Linked DNA regions of Homo sapiens: regions 2 and 3 are each linked to region 1. The links are contacts of gene promoters, found by promoter capture Hi-C in blood cells and fetal thymus (Javierre and others, 2016). All regions are on one chromosome and are shown on one strand. The core of a region is centred on a gene start or on the middle of the fragment in contact, and the rest is flanking DNA. Distances in the headings are between cores, read along the strand shown. Region 1 holds the start of PCMTD1 (protein-L-isoaspartate (D-aspartate) O-methyltransferase domain containing 1). Region 2 holds the start of THAP1 (THAP domain containing 1). Region 3 overlaps BPNT2 (3'(2'), 5'-bisphosphate nucleotidase 2).

Region 1 (4,663 bases), core at 1,266-3,765:
AGAAGTGAATTATAGCCAGACGTGGTGGCTCATGCCTGTAATCCCAACACTTTGGGAGGCCGAGGCGGGTGGATCACTTGAGATCGGAGTTTGAGGCCAGCCTAGCCAACAGGGGAAACCCCATCTCTACTAAAAATACAAAAATTAGCAGGGGGTGGTGGTGCGCTCCTGTGATCCTAGCTACTTGGGAGGCTGAGGCAGAACTGCTTGAAGCCGGGAGGTGGAGGTTGCAGTGAGCAGAGGTTGCCACTGCACTCCAGCCTGGGCAAAAGAGCAAAAGACTCTGTCGCCCCCACCCACAAATGAATTATATGTGTAAGGTATGGAGGCATAATCAGAAATTACGTGAAGGTAGAGATGGGGTGTGCCTACCACAGGAAAATTACAGGTGATAGAGTGCTTTACTTGCTGTTCAACTACTCACCCACAAGACTAGCATTTGGTGTTGTTTATTAAGAAGGTATTTACTAGCAGTCTTATTTAAAAAATGACCTGTGTTTAACTTTCCAGCCGCAGAAGAGAAAAAAGGTCTAGAACCCTGAAAAATTCCCATAGCAGAAGGAAGAAAGTAAAGGAAAATATGCTTTTAAAAAATGGAGAGAAAACAGGGGAAACGGCTGTAAGAGTTGTTTAATGATTTTAGCTATTTTCCTTAGATTACCATTTGTACTTTTTTTGTTTGTTTATGGTAAGATAGTTTTCATGTGCCAAAATTTCTGCTTGGACTAACAGAAAATTCATCCTGTAAGATTGTTATATGATCCCACAACGGTTAGGAGTGCCCTGGGTCCAGGCAGAAATCCAAAGATGGAGCTAATAATGTGACCCGCAGCTCTACTCCAGAATGCAGATGAATAGAGATTTTGAACAGTTCGGAGCTCAATGTCCACTGAATATGCACTCATACTTTAAACCTAAATAAAGTGAAGCCTTTGAGTTAAATGGCAGAGCGCCTCAGCAGCAATTTTGCTCGTTTTCAAGTTCTTATTTCGTGATTTGAAGCTTTTGACCTTGCTAGCATGTTCTTTCTGAACGCTTTTGCAGATGGTTGGTTATGGTGGGGAGTAGTAACCCTAGCATAAAGACGTTCTAATTCTAACTTACCTTAGGTAACCTATAAGGGTAGCTTACGCTCACTCTCATACTTGAAAATCAAAACCGAACAGAATTCACACGATGGAAGCAAATCATGCTACAACCTACTATTAGAGACTGAAGGGAAACGCACAAAGATTAATGAACAACAAAGAACACTTCAAAAAGTACAGTATTTGGAAAAGACATGCCTTTATGTACACTAAAACTAATTTAAAAAATTAAATGCAGTTTGCTAGGAGTCTTACAAGTATTAACAGCATGTTCACTGCTTAGGATCCTTAGTAGCAATATTTTCCCGGCTCGCCTGCCCCTATGCCTCATTTCCTCTTCTTTTTTTTTTTGAGATGGAGTTTCGCTCTTGCCGCCCAGGCCAGGTGCCATCTCAGCACTGCAACCTCCGACTCCCGGGTTCAAGCGATTCTCCTACCTCAGCCTCCCGAGTTGCTGGGACTACAGGCGCACGGCACCACACCCGGCTAATTTTTGTATTTTTAGTAGAGACGGGGTTTCACCATGTAGGCCAGGCTGGTCTCTAAGTCCTGACCTCAGGTGATCCGCCTGTCTCGGCCTCCCAAAGTGCTGGGATGACAGGCGTGAGCCACTCACCCGGCCCTCTTCTCGACTTTCTATCCCTCCTCCTCAACACCCTTTCCTTCTGGAAATGGGCTTTGGGGTGGTTAACCAAGCCCAGGGAAACTTGCGTGGCCCAGCATCTTCCGTCCGCTGCAGGAGGAGCACACGCCCCCGGCCCGGGTCAGCAAGACGCGAGAAAGCGGCCACGCCGGGCGTCCGGGAGCTGAGGCTGGAGGGCGCCTGGCAGGCAGGGCGGGGCCCAGGCGGCGGGAGTGCTTATGACCGGCGCTGGGGGGAACTTCTGGACGTCAAGGGGCCACTATAAAGCGGCACAGTCTTGAGCCTTCGCTCTTCACCTAAGTCAGTGAGCGCCCTTCGCAAAGCCTCTGTGGAGGTAACCATTGGGGGTTCGCCTCCAAATCCAGGAATGCACCTCAAAAATGCTCCTACACCGTAAGACCGTGTCCTTCAATGCAAAGGGGACTGTGCGGCGAGGCACCGACAAGCCGTAGCCCTGAGACCACTGAAAGCCTGCACCCCAGCGCCGGTGCGAGAACGTGGAGATGGCGGTGGGGAGGAGAGGTGGAGGCCATGCTCTCGCGTGATCTCCCCTACCGCCATCGTCTTCTGGCCTGTCAAGGCCTCGCGTTGTTTGGGCTTGGGGGCGGAGCGAGCCCTGAGGGGGGCGGGGCCAGATGGGGGCGTCTCCCGGCCTTGTTGACTTTGGCGTCCGCGGGGAGCTGCCCCTGTGCCCGTGGTTCTCTGCGCATGCCCGGACCCCGGCGGCTCCGGAGTCCGGGAGGCTCTGGCTGCTCCAGTCGCGGGTCCGGGCCCCGCCTCTCCACTCGGCGGTGGCGTCCGTGTTGTTATTGTGGTGGTAGCGGCGTCTGGCTGCTGCGGACCCCGCCGAGTCCTAGCGCCTGGCCTGCGCGCCGCTGCCCGCGCCACAGGTAACGCCGCCGCCAGTGGGGGCTCGGGGTCGTGGGGTGTGCGAGTCCCGCGTGCTAGGGCCGGGCGGGCGACTGGGATGCGCTTGGAGGCCAGAGGGCCAGGGGGACGGCAGCCGAAGAGTCGGGGGCAGGGGGACTTAAGGGCGGGCAGGTCGGGGGCCAGGAAACTGAGGCGCTGCGGGGCAGGTTGGGGGAAGGACGGGCCGGGGGCGGAGGACTTGGGAGGTCGGGGAGTCGAAAGGGGCCCAGCGAAGCCTGGAGGTCGGGAGCCGGGGTCCCTGGGGCCGGGGAGGTCGGGGGCCCGAGGGAGGCCGGGGCGCCGCGTCCTCGGCCCGTCCTCGGCTCGTCCTCGGCTCTGACCTGGGCTTGGGGACCAGAGTCCCGAGGCTGGCGTCTTGAGATGCCCGCGGGCCCCTTAGGGCCGTTTTGGATCCGCCCAGTGACTTCTGTTTTGGTTTTGGAGGCAGAGAATCCAGTCTACGTAGACTCGGGGAAGTCTCGGGGGCTGGGAGGGGACTGAGAGGTTATAGCAGGCGCCAAGGCCTCTTTTTGTGTTTTTGAGCGTCTACTACCGTTCCGGGGAAGTGCAGTGCCCGCGTTTTGCTTGGGGAATTTCAGACACCGGCATGGGGAGGACCCACGGGCAGAACCCGAGGGAGTAATTTTGCAAATCCAAGATTTTTTGGAACTTCTATAATTTTGTTTTCGTGTGTCCTCTTTTTAGAATCGAGAAACCAGAGATATATTTTTAACATTACAAATCAGAAGAATTTGCTACGGAGGAAAAAAGTATGCTTTTAGCAGTGTTTTTCCCCTATTTATTTTTTTAATTACAAAAGTACTGCTTGCTCCTTGAGAAAAACATGAAGCAGCCAAACAATGAGGAAACCTGCCCTCTCTCGCGCCCTTCCCCCCATATTTCTCCTTCTTACTACCCAGGGTAGCCAGTCTCCAAGTGTGGTGGGTAGTTATTCAGGATTTTTTTTTTCTGTGCATTTAATGAGTGTGCTTTAGAAACAAGATTGGGATCATATATAGTACAGTATATCGTTTTATTAGCCAACAATGCATCATGGATATTCCTCCATTTTATTACACACCTCATTATTTTAAAAAACATTATTACTATGTATTAGAGAATCCAATCTACGTAGGCTTGGGGAAGCCTTTTCTTCATTGTTAAACATGGTCGCCAAGTTTTCAATAATCAGTAGCTTTGAAAAGGGCTACAAGCCAATATTTTGAAACAATGTGGCAAAACTTTCAGAATGTCTGCGGCCAGACGACATTACTTTCGTATTAAGCAGATTAATATGTTTACGTATTGCTTAATGGTAGTTTACATGAGGCTAGATGACTCCATAAAACATAAAGTTGCTGAATTAGTTTACTTTTTGGTTTTTTTTATTTCATTTTTTTCTAAGTAAATTTTAATTCCATATGGTCAGTTGAACACTTGTAATTTCTTTAACATGAAGTAGCTAATATGTGAAGGAAAGGTAAGGTAGGAAAGATAGAAAGCTAGTGGCCCTAGCCTGAGACAAGAAAAAAAAAGCAACAGGGATTAAATATTTTGGTAAGTAAGCTATAGGGAGTAAACTGGAAGTGGAGGGGTGATACTACACTGCCTACTATTAAGTAAGACAGAAAGCTAGGAAATTCCCATTGCATACTGTATTTCTGTGTGCAGAAGAGCTGGAGGCTTTGTTGATTTAATCACTAGCTTGTATTTATTAAAAATGTACTGTGTTCATCTTGGTGCTAGCTTCCAGGGAAAGAACAACTGAGGAAGATAATCACGAACAACGTCTGGTTCTAAACATGCATAGCCTGAAATTTTAAGCCAAATTGTGTAGTATTTTATGATTTGGAAACTGTGCTCGAAAGGAATAAAAAAATCCATGACATTTTAGTTATTTTTGGTAATAATATGCTCATATATTTCTCATAACAACATAAATGACATTCTTCTCATTCTATAGAGTAATAAATAGAGGCTTTGAGTAAAAGAACTGCTCAAGATCCCATTGCTTTTTTTTTTT
Region 2 (4,663 bases), core at 1,606-4,105, 9.1 Mb after region 1:
AGACATAAAGCCGGAACAAAGGTAAAGACAAGTGGAGGGAGATGATGGTGGAAGAGTAGAAGTACTTGGTCTTAAAGAGCTTTATAATTCACCATAAGAAGTTTGGATTTTATTCAGTACAGCAGGTAGCCTTGGAAGGATATGAGCAAGGGCGTGGCAGGCATGCACCACCCTTCTATAGAAGATAGAATGGAGAGAGGTAAAACTGGAGACTAGGATAGTTAAGGGGTTGCTGCAAGGTTAAGACCATGAGAGCTTGGTCAAGAACAGTGAGGAGGCCAGGTGCCGTGGCTCACGCCTGTAGTCCCAGGACTTTGGGAGGCCCTGGCTGACAGATAGCTTAAACCCAGGAGTTTGAGACCAGCCTGGGCAACACAGTGAGACCTCATCTCTGTTAAATATAATAATAAAAATAATTAAAGAACAGTGAGGGTTGGGCGCAGTGGCTCACGCCTGTAATCCCAACACTTTGGGAGGCCGAGGCAGGCGTATCACCTGAGGTCAGGAGTTCGAGTCCAGCCTGGCCAACATGGTGAAACCCCATCTCTACAAAAATACAAAAATTAGCCAGGCATGGTGGCGGGTGCCTGTAATCCCAGCTACTTAGGAGGCTGAGGCGGGATAATCGCTTGAACCCAGGAGGCGGAGGTTGCAGTGAACTGAGATTGTGCCACTGCACTCCAGACTGAGCGACAGAGTGAGACTCCCTCTCAAAAAAAAAAACAAAAAAAAAAACAACAACAACAGTGAGGAGACATGAAGAGGGATGGATTTAAGGGGCATTTATTTATTTAGTCTACAAAATTAACCTGGTCATCAACGGGTTTTATGGGTGACAAAAAAAATCCAAGATGACTCCAAGGTTTCTGGTTTAGACAACTGTTGAACAGATAATTCACAGATGATAATTCACAGATGATAATCCCAAAGGCAGAACGGATATACAAAGGAAATAAAAGATGAGAGAATTATGGTATTTGGTTCAGTTTAAGGAGCAGGGTGTTTAGGAGTTAGAGGAGGGCAGAAGATGGAACCCTGGGGAAACAGCAACATTTAAAAGGGCAGGAAAGGTAGAGAATAAGGGCCAAGGGATTACTCAACAGTCCGCTCTCCAGGTCTGCCTGGCTCAGATCTATATAAAGAAAAGGAGCAGGGAATGAAGTAAAACTGTTACAGGAAAGGGGTCCCAATCCAGACCCCAAGACAGGGTTCTTGGATCTCACGCAAGACAGAATTCAGGGCAAGTCCACAGTACAAAGCAAAAGCAAGTTTATTAAGAACGTAAAGTGGTGAAAGTACAGCTACTCCACAGACAGAGTAGGGCATTCCCGAAAGTAAGAGGAGGAACGCGTCCACCCTAAGTACAACACTTAGTTTATATATAGGATAAAAAAAGATCATGGGGAGATGTGCTTTGCTACAAGGGTTTGTGATAAAGGATTAATTACTATATTATGTAAGAATCGATATTATCTTTATTTATGAGACAGAGTCTTACTCTGTCGCCCAGGCTGGAGTGCAGTGGTGCAAGCACGGCTCACTGCAACCCCCGCCTCCCGGATTCAAGCGATTATCCTGCCTCAGCCTCCAGAGTAGCTGAAATTCGAGGGCATGTGCCACCACACCCGGTTAATTTTTGTATTTTTAGTAGAGACGTTTTCACCATGTTGACCAGGCTAGTCTTGAACTCCTGACCTCAAGTGATCCGCCCGCCTCGGCCTTCCAAAGTGCTGGGATTACAGGCGTGAGGCACTGTGCCCAGCCCAATATTATTATCTTTAAAGCAAAATTAGGAATGCTTCTGTTCTCAAAATATCGGGATATCTGGACACTTGGTAGTCTGGGTCTGTGTAGTAAACATTATCAATCTGTTGCCTTAATGGTATACACATCTAGAGGCTAGGAATACCTAACTTCCCGGGAATGCAGCCCAGCAAGTCCCAGCCTCATTTTCCTAGCCCTCACTCAACACAGAGTCGCTCTAGTTCGAACCCCTCTAACATATTCTCTCTCAGGTGTGAAAATTGCTGCAGCAGTTCGCTATTTGCAACACAGCACATGGAAATCACAGCAATGGAGAGCCTTCAGAAAAGCTTCTGGGGAGGGACAGCCTGGTGGCTCAACTCCTGTAATCCCAACCCATGGGGAGGTCGAGATGGGAGGATCCCTTGAGCTCGAGTTCCAGACTGACCTGGGCAACGTGGGGAGACAACGCCTCTATTTATTTAAAAAATTACATATATATATATATATATACATACACACACACATATATACATACACACATATATACATACATATACATACATATATATAAAACGCTTCTGCGTTGGCAATTGAGATGATTTGGCGAGTGTGTCTTTTTTCATTGCTAAAAATCTGTCACGTTGGCTCTCACAGAAACTTGTGATACCTGAAGACACAGGTAATGGGATAAAGATTAGCACTCTGGGAAAAGGTTCCACAATTTTATTAATCATACACCATCTGTGTCCGCCCTTTTAAAGAAATGGGCGCAATCAGCCAACGACCTCGGCTTTACACCTGTTCTCCAAGAGGCCCTAGTTGTTCCCTACTGTAAGCTGCCCCAGAAAAGGTCCGCATCAATTAACCCACGGGAACAGCCCGGGGCTGGAGGATGCCCCAGGAATCCGGCCTCCCGCCGCGCCTCCTCCCCCCACAAGCAGTTCCTTCCTGCCTGCCGGAAGCTCAGGGCTCCGCCCACTTCGGCAACTCTGAAGCCACCGCCGGAAACACCTGGCCTCAGCCAATAGTTAGCTTCCCAGGAAACGTTACCTCTGACCTCGGGGCTAATCAGAGACAGTGGGACGCACCCCTCGCGAGAGGTGAGGTTGAAGCTGCCTCCGCCATCTTGGAGATGGGAGACGGGCGATGGCTGTGGTCCTTCTGCTAATGCAAACAACAAAACGGGCACACTAGTCACCCCCGAGGGAGGCCACCATCACTGTAACTGTTGGCCAAAGCTACAAAAGAAGCGAGGGAATCCAACCGAGCGCAGCGACACTGAGAACAGCTTCCCCTGCCTTCTGCGGCGGCAGAAGTGAAGTGCCTGAGGACCGGAAGGATGGTGCAGTCCTGCTCCGCCTACGGCTGCAAGAACCGCTACGACAAGGACAAGCCCGTTTCTTTCCACAAGTGAGGACCCTGCGCGCCTCGCGGGGCCGGTCTCAGCCGGGGTGGGGGCGCGCGGCCGGCGGGGCCGGGGGCGGAGCCAGGCGCGTGTCCGCGCGAGGGGCGGGTGGGGTCTGGGGCCGGCCGTGTCGGGCGTTTCCCACCGCGTCCCGCTGGGAACCGCCGCCCGATCGCGCGTTCTCGGCGCGCGTCGCCGCGGCAGCCGTTTCTCGCGCTCCTGGAACAGGCCCTGGTTGCAGGCTTCGCTCACGGCCTGGGTTGACGCGTTCGGAGCCCACGGGCGATGCCTAGGGTGGCGCGGGTTTTGCCACCACCAGGGTCACAGAGCAGCCAGGTGTTTTAATATGGTCTTAGGGGTAAATTTAAAATAGAAACAAAGGCCTTTAAACGAAGAAATCACTACTTTTCGCCCTTGCCGTGGATGGGAGGCCAGCATCGTAGCAATTAAGGGTTTTTTGGCTGGGAAATCAGGGAGAATTTTTGCCCCCAATCTCTAGGAACTAAGCTTTAAGGACCCTGTATTTTGGAGAAAGCTTCAGGTACTGCCGAGATAAATCGTTATCTTTTCAGCACACAATAATGATAATATGGACAGTTACAACATGGATCATAATAAAATGACTCACACGGATCTTTATTTATTATGGCATTACCTGTGCATAGAGAAAGCTCTTTCGAAAGAAACTGCCCCACAGCTTTCAGAGCTGTCTTATCCAGTAGGTAGCACAGTTAAGTGATAGGATCAAAAATATTCTCTTGAAAATAGGAAAAAAGTGCAGAGTTGTAATTACTTATGATAAACGCTTGTAAAATGTGACATAACATTTTCATTCAGCTGAATTTGTTTACAAATTTTAATTACATTTATGTTAAGTTTTCTTTGCAAGAATTCCTGACAGCTATACGCAGATGATAGGTAAGAAATCAGATCCAGGGGTAAACTATACAGATTAGCCATAGGTAATTAGCTAATTATCTTTTATAATTAGGTAAATAATTACAAAAGCAAAATGTTAAATATCTTTTCAGTTAATTTATTTTTTTGCTGTGGGGCCATCTGTGTTTACTAGGGGAGTGTCCATGCATTTTTTAAATATGTTTGATATCATGTGAGATGGACCCTATAGAAATAAGAGTGTGTAGAACATAGAGAGGTCTCCAGAGTAATAATGTTACCCCTTGGAGAAGGGGATAGAACACTTAGAGGATTCAGTTCAGGATATCCTAATATTATCTCTTGATTTAATTGGAATTTCTGTAAACATGTTCTTTCTAAATGTAGGGAAAGGTCAGGTGATGGTAACAGGATTACATGCCCAGCTCCCCACCCACATTTCTGATGGCTTGGCAGAAGGAATCTAAAATTATGGAAAATGTTTCATTGGCACTGGAAACTAGTTTAAAGAGGGTATTCACACGTCGGAAATAACTGTTTTTGTCGAGGCACGATGGCTCATGCCTGTAATTCCCAGCACTTGGGGAGGCCAAGGTGGGCGGATCACCTGACGTC
Region 3 (4,663 bases), core at 589-3,088, 5.1 Mb before region 1:
GCCCTTGATTAAAGATCCATATTTACTCCAGAGAATAAGAATTAAATAACATTTGGCTTTTCTTTGGGTAGGTTTCTGGGAAGGGAGTTGACATTTTCTTAAGGAAATCCAGACATTTTGGATTTGTTATTAATACTTTTTGAATTCATCATTTCACTGGAGCTGCTATTGAGTTGAATAAAGCATATTTAAAATTTGCAGTTCCAGAAACTGCAAATTTTGTTGAGGAAGAGCTCAGCATAGCGTAGCAGCACCTTATTAACGTATATCTTAACTCACCTAACTGTAGTTTTGGCTACTGGGAAGAAAAATTGTCTTCACTGGAATTTTATTAGATAAACAGTGATGTGCAAACCCAGGCTTCTTTGGAAGGTGACTGACCTTTTACTGCTGATCTTGAAAGAGTTAGGAGAATATTGTCATTGTTTAGTTATGTATTTTGCATAAGGCTTCTTCCAGTCTATCATAATATTGCTTTGGTTTTGTTTTTTATTCTCCTCTCTTCCTCCCTTTTCTTTCGTCTTTTTCTTTTTCCAGTGGAAAGGAACATTGTATTTCCTAACATGAGCTACTGGATACCAGATGTAATTAACGTTAGAATTTTTTTTTTCAAATTTCTACTTAAAACACAGAATATTTCCACTTTTTCTTCTTCCCTACTCTGTTTTTATCATCACAAATAATACTTAAATTTTTTTGCATCTAGATGTAAGGTGTGTTTATGAAATATTTTACCCCCTTTCCAAAACATACGTGTTTCCTTCCCCAAGAATTTATAGAGGAAACAGGAGATTCAGAGAAGTTGCTATTTAATGGTTATAACAGTACTAATAATAACCATTTATTGAATATATTTTACATGCCCAAATACTGGCTACACAGGACTTCATTTGATCCTTAACAGCAACTTTAAGAAGTAAATTTTATTTCTGCCTACTATACAAACGGGAAATCTGAGGCTCGTGACACTCCAGCTTATATGAACTATCCCACATTTTAGCTAGATTTTTAGAAGGCTATTTAAAACTTATAATTGTAGAAGCTTAAAAGCAGTAATAGTGAAATACAGCAAGCAGAGTTGATTTTTCTTTTTTTAAGTAAAAACAAAAGTATCTTAAATGTTGAAAACACATCTGTATGTGTGTGCATTCTCATTTATTAGCAAACAATAAGGGAATGGCTGCCAAGGGCAGTGAGCTGCATTTTATTAACATAAAAGCTAAGCTTTTGGAATTGCAGATGTTGAAGTCTCTGGCTTAATATAAAACAACTTCTTGTTTTCTTGTGACTATTTGAATGTTTGCATGTGCTTCTGTAGTATTCATGTTGGGTCATGACTGAAGGAATAGAAGAGGTTTGTGATCATTTATACAGTGTCAAAGTAGGGATGGTGTCATGTTGAGCGATCTCCTTATACCCCTGTGTTATAGGCTAGAGGCCAAATATTGTAGCCAACTAAGTGGAGAATCAACCTAAAAGGAGTCTTTCTCCTTTTTTGCCTTCCCCTCTCCTAATGCCCAGAAGTACAGTCTTAAATCCCTGGTTAATTTTGAAGCCTCACCCCAAATTTCTTGGTAAGAAACTTAAATTATATCCCACTTAGTTTACTTCCTAGTGGAAAAAGACCATTGAGAAGCAACAGATACTTCTTTCTTTTATCCTAGTGCCCTATGTAAATGTAGAAAGATCTGTTTTCTCCCACTACTTTCCTATGTAGAGTCTGAAGTCTGAGCTTTCGTATGTAATGTTCACTCCTCAGTAAAAGGATATACCAGGGGTTATCCTAGAGCACTCAACTGGAGACAGTTTTGTCCCCTAACTGACATTTGACAACGTCGGAAGACATTTTTGATTGTCACAACCAGGGGTGGGATGCTACTGGCATCTAGTAGGTAGAGGGTAAACATCCTATAATGCACAGGACAGCCCCCTATGACGAAGAATTATCTGCTCCATTTGTCAATTGATGCCCAAGTTGAGGAATCATACTCCAGAGAAGTGAGTGCTATCCTAACAAAACTCAGATTTCACCTAGGCTCCCTGGATTTCCTTTTGTCTTCAGTTTTCTTCAGGTTAGAGATCCCAGAGAGTCCTCTGGGCAGCTAGTCTCCTCTTCCTAAACACTTTGGCAATGCTTGACTTCATTGTGTCAAAGTAATAGTAACTCCAGCCATTTGTATGGCACTGTCTCTTTATCCTTGCAGGTAACAATGAAAATGAAGGCTGAAGATACTTTTGTGGAGTGGGTTTGCAGCCACAGAACAGACAAACTGAGATTTATAGTTTTGATTTAATGTACAGGGGACTGTCTGTTTGAGGGGCTCCTGTCCTCAACTTGATTTGTTCAAAGTTTTGACAATGACTTATTTGAAGGTAAAGCATGGTACTCCAAGCTGGTAGCAGCCACTTGGGTCTGTGCCTTCCTTGACCTATAAGATGGAAGTTAAGCTTCTCTCTTTCAACAGAAGTATGTCCCAGAAAAGTTTGAGAAGCACTAATATAGTGCACAGAGCACTTGCATTGACATGTTGTGCAGTCACCAGCCTAGGTGGTACTGGCCAGTCATTTAACTTTTTTGAGCCATAGTTTCCTCTTCTGTAAAATCAGAATAACTAGTAATTGGTGTAGACATAAGCACTGAAAACAGAGGAAAAGAATCTAGTTCAAAGGAACAGGCCCAAGAGAGATAGTAGGACAGCTAATTCTTGTAATCTAATGAGTTTGAGTAAAATGCACTTGGGAGAATTATTGTGGAAGAGATTGGAAAGGTAGGTAGGGGCTAGGTCATATTCCAAGCTCAAAGGAATTTGGACCTAGTCCATGGTTTACTAGTAGAATACTAAAAGAAGGCCAGATTTAGCTGACTTTTCTTGAGGCCTGCAATAAGCCATACTTTGGGCTTTGGGCATTTGGAGGTAGATAGGAACTAGTTAGAGACTGTTAAAACAGGCCATGGGAGAGATGAGGACCAGGACTCAAGCAGTGGGGAAGTTATGCTGAGCTTGTTTTACTAGCTAACATTTGCATAGCCTTCTGCAAGCCACAAAAATTGAATTAAACTTCTTAATGACATTATTAATTTTATCTTCACAACAACAAAGGAGGTTAAGTACTACAGCCTCTGTTTTTCAGATAAAGACTTGGAGAGGCTAAATAATTTGCCAAAGATTGTCCAGCTAGAATTTTTTTTTTTTTTTTTTTTTAAAGATGGTGTCTCGCTCTGTCGCCCAGGCTGGAGTGCAGTGGCACAATCTCAGCTCACTGCAAGCTCTGCCTCCCAGGTTCATGCCATTCTCCTGCCTCAGCCTCCCAAGTAGCTGGGACTACAGGTGCCGCCACCACGCCCAGCTAATTTTTTGTATTTTTAGTAGAGACGGGGTTTCACCATGAGAATAATCTTAGAGTCACTGAGATTGACATAATGGTCAGAGAATCATCTCAGGTCTGTCTAATTCTCTATATAAGGCGGTATAGCAGATGTAACAAGTATACTCTTAACTACAGTGTTAAAAATGAATGGAAGGACTCAGAGTAGTTGCTTGGAGGATGGTTTGGAGGGGAGCAAAGTAAATACAGGGAGACCAGTTAGGAGGCCCTTTTTCAGGTGAGAGCTTATATCTTTTGAATTAGGGTTATGGTTGTAGAGAAGATAGATGTAGAAGGAAGTGAAAGAATTTTTAGGGATATGTCAAAAATAACTCCTCTGTAGCTTTCACAATTGGGGTTTTGTTGCTGGTGAAGGGGAGTGGTGGTTAAGTTGGAGGACAGATTATGAATGCCATTTTAGACTTGCTATGTTAGAGATGCCTTTGATATGTCCAAGGTTAGCTGTCAAAGAGTCAGTTGAATATATGAGTCTGAAGGTCTGAAGAAACATCTGAACTGAAAATACAAATCTGCGAGTCATCGGTGTTGTGATGTTAATTGAAACTGGTTGTGGACAGAATTGGTTAGGGAGAGAATATAACATGAAAGGGGAATATCAGGGCCTAGAACCAAGGATAATGAAGACTGAAAACAATCATTTAACAAGAATAGTAGCAACCAACCTTTATTAAATGCTTACTCTGTGTTAAGCACTGTACTAAGTTTGTTTTACCTTTTCTCTTTCAGTCTTCTTAAGAACCTTACAGGGAGCTAGATCATTGTCCCTTTTTACCAATGAGGTAATTGTAGCTCAGAAAGTTTAGGTGACTAGCCTAAATTATTCATATACCCAATAAATTGAGGAGTTGGCATTTGAACTCAGGCAACCTATGATTAGGAGGTGAGGAAATGGAGACTGTGAGTAAAGACAAGTTTTGTGAGAAATTGGGCTTTTAAGGAAGTTGGCTGGGGTGTTAGGTGTATTATGTTTCCTAAGAGAAGGTTCTGTGCTTTCTTTTTGGTATATTTGTTTTTAAGATATGAGACACTACAGCATGTTTAATTGTTTATAGAGCTATATTTGAAAGACAATAGTTGATAGTAAAAGGTTTCTGTAAAGGTGGGAAGAGAATAGGACAGGTAGAGGTACGTTTATTTATATGTTTAGAAAATAGTTATTGAGGCCTGGCGTGGTGGCTCATGCCTGTAATCCCAGTACTTTGGGAGGCCGAGGCGGGTGGATCATGAGGTCGGGAGATTGAGACCATTCTGGCTAACACAGTGAAACCCCATCTTT

Evidence for each region. The method cuts DNA at HindIII sites, captures the fragments that hold promoters and counts their contacts. A CHiCAGO score of 5 or more calls a contact.
Region 2: the fragment with the promoter of THAP1 here is called in contact with the fragment with the promoter of PCMTD1 in region 1 in 1 of 17 cell types (total CD8 T cells); the score reaches 9.3 in total CD8 T cells.
Region 3: a fragment that was not itself captured here is called in contact with the fragment with the promoter of PCMTD1 in region 1 in 1 of 17 cell types (activated CD4 T cells); the score reaches 5.5 in activated CD4 T cells.

Annotation. Positions count from the first base shown.
Region 1 is chr8:51,896,888-51,901,550 of GRCh38, reverse strand. PCMTD1 (protein-L-isoaspartate (D-aspartate) O-methyltransferase domain containing 1) reads left to right here and starts at 2,515. Exons shown (of 6, transcript NM_052937.4): 1 at 2,515-2,621. PCMTD1-DT (PCMTD1 divergent transcript) reads right to left here and starts at 2,236. Exons shown (of 4, transcript NR_189279.1): 1 at 1,705-2,236. RefSeq lists enhancers at 1,399-1,458, 1,759-1,818, 1,989-2,278 and a silencer at 2,319-3,008. The HindIII fragment of the contact is 4,691 bases long and covers 1,005-4,663 here.
Region 2 is chr8:42,841,517-42,846,179 of GRCh38, reverse strand. THAP1 (THAP domain containing 1) reads left to right here and starts at 2,855. Exons shown (of 3, transcript NM_018105.3): 1 at 2,855-3,156. The coding sequence starts at 3,086. It overlaps LOC124901940 (a long non-coding RNA gene), which reads right to left and starts at 3,246. Exons shown (of 2, transcript XR_007060901.1): 1 at 2,797-3,246; 2 at 768-2,413. RefSeq lists enhancers at 2,777-3,136, 2,472-3,262 and a silencer at 3,167-3,256. The HindIII fragment of the contact is 1,565 bases long and covers 2,096-3,660 here.
Region 3 is chr8:56,987,913-56,992,575 of GRCh38, reverse strand. All of the region lies in intron 1 of BPNT2 (3'(2'), 5'-bisphosphate nucleotidase 2), which reads left to right. Among named protein-coding and RNA genes, the nearest start is that of BPNT2, 3.6 kb to the left of the region's middle. The HindIII fragment of the contact is 1,224 bases long and covers 1,227-2,450 here.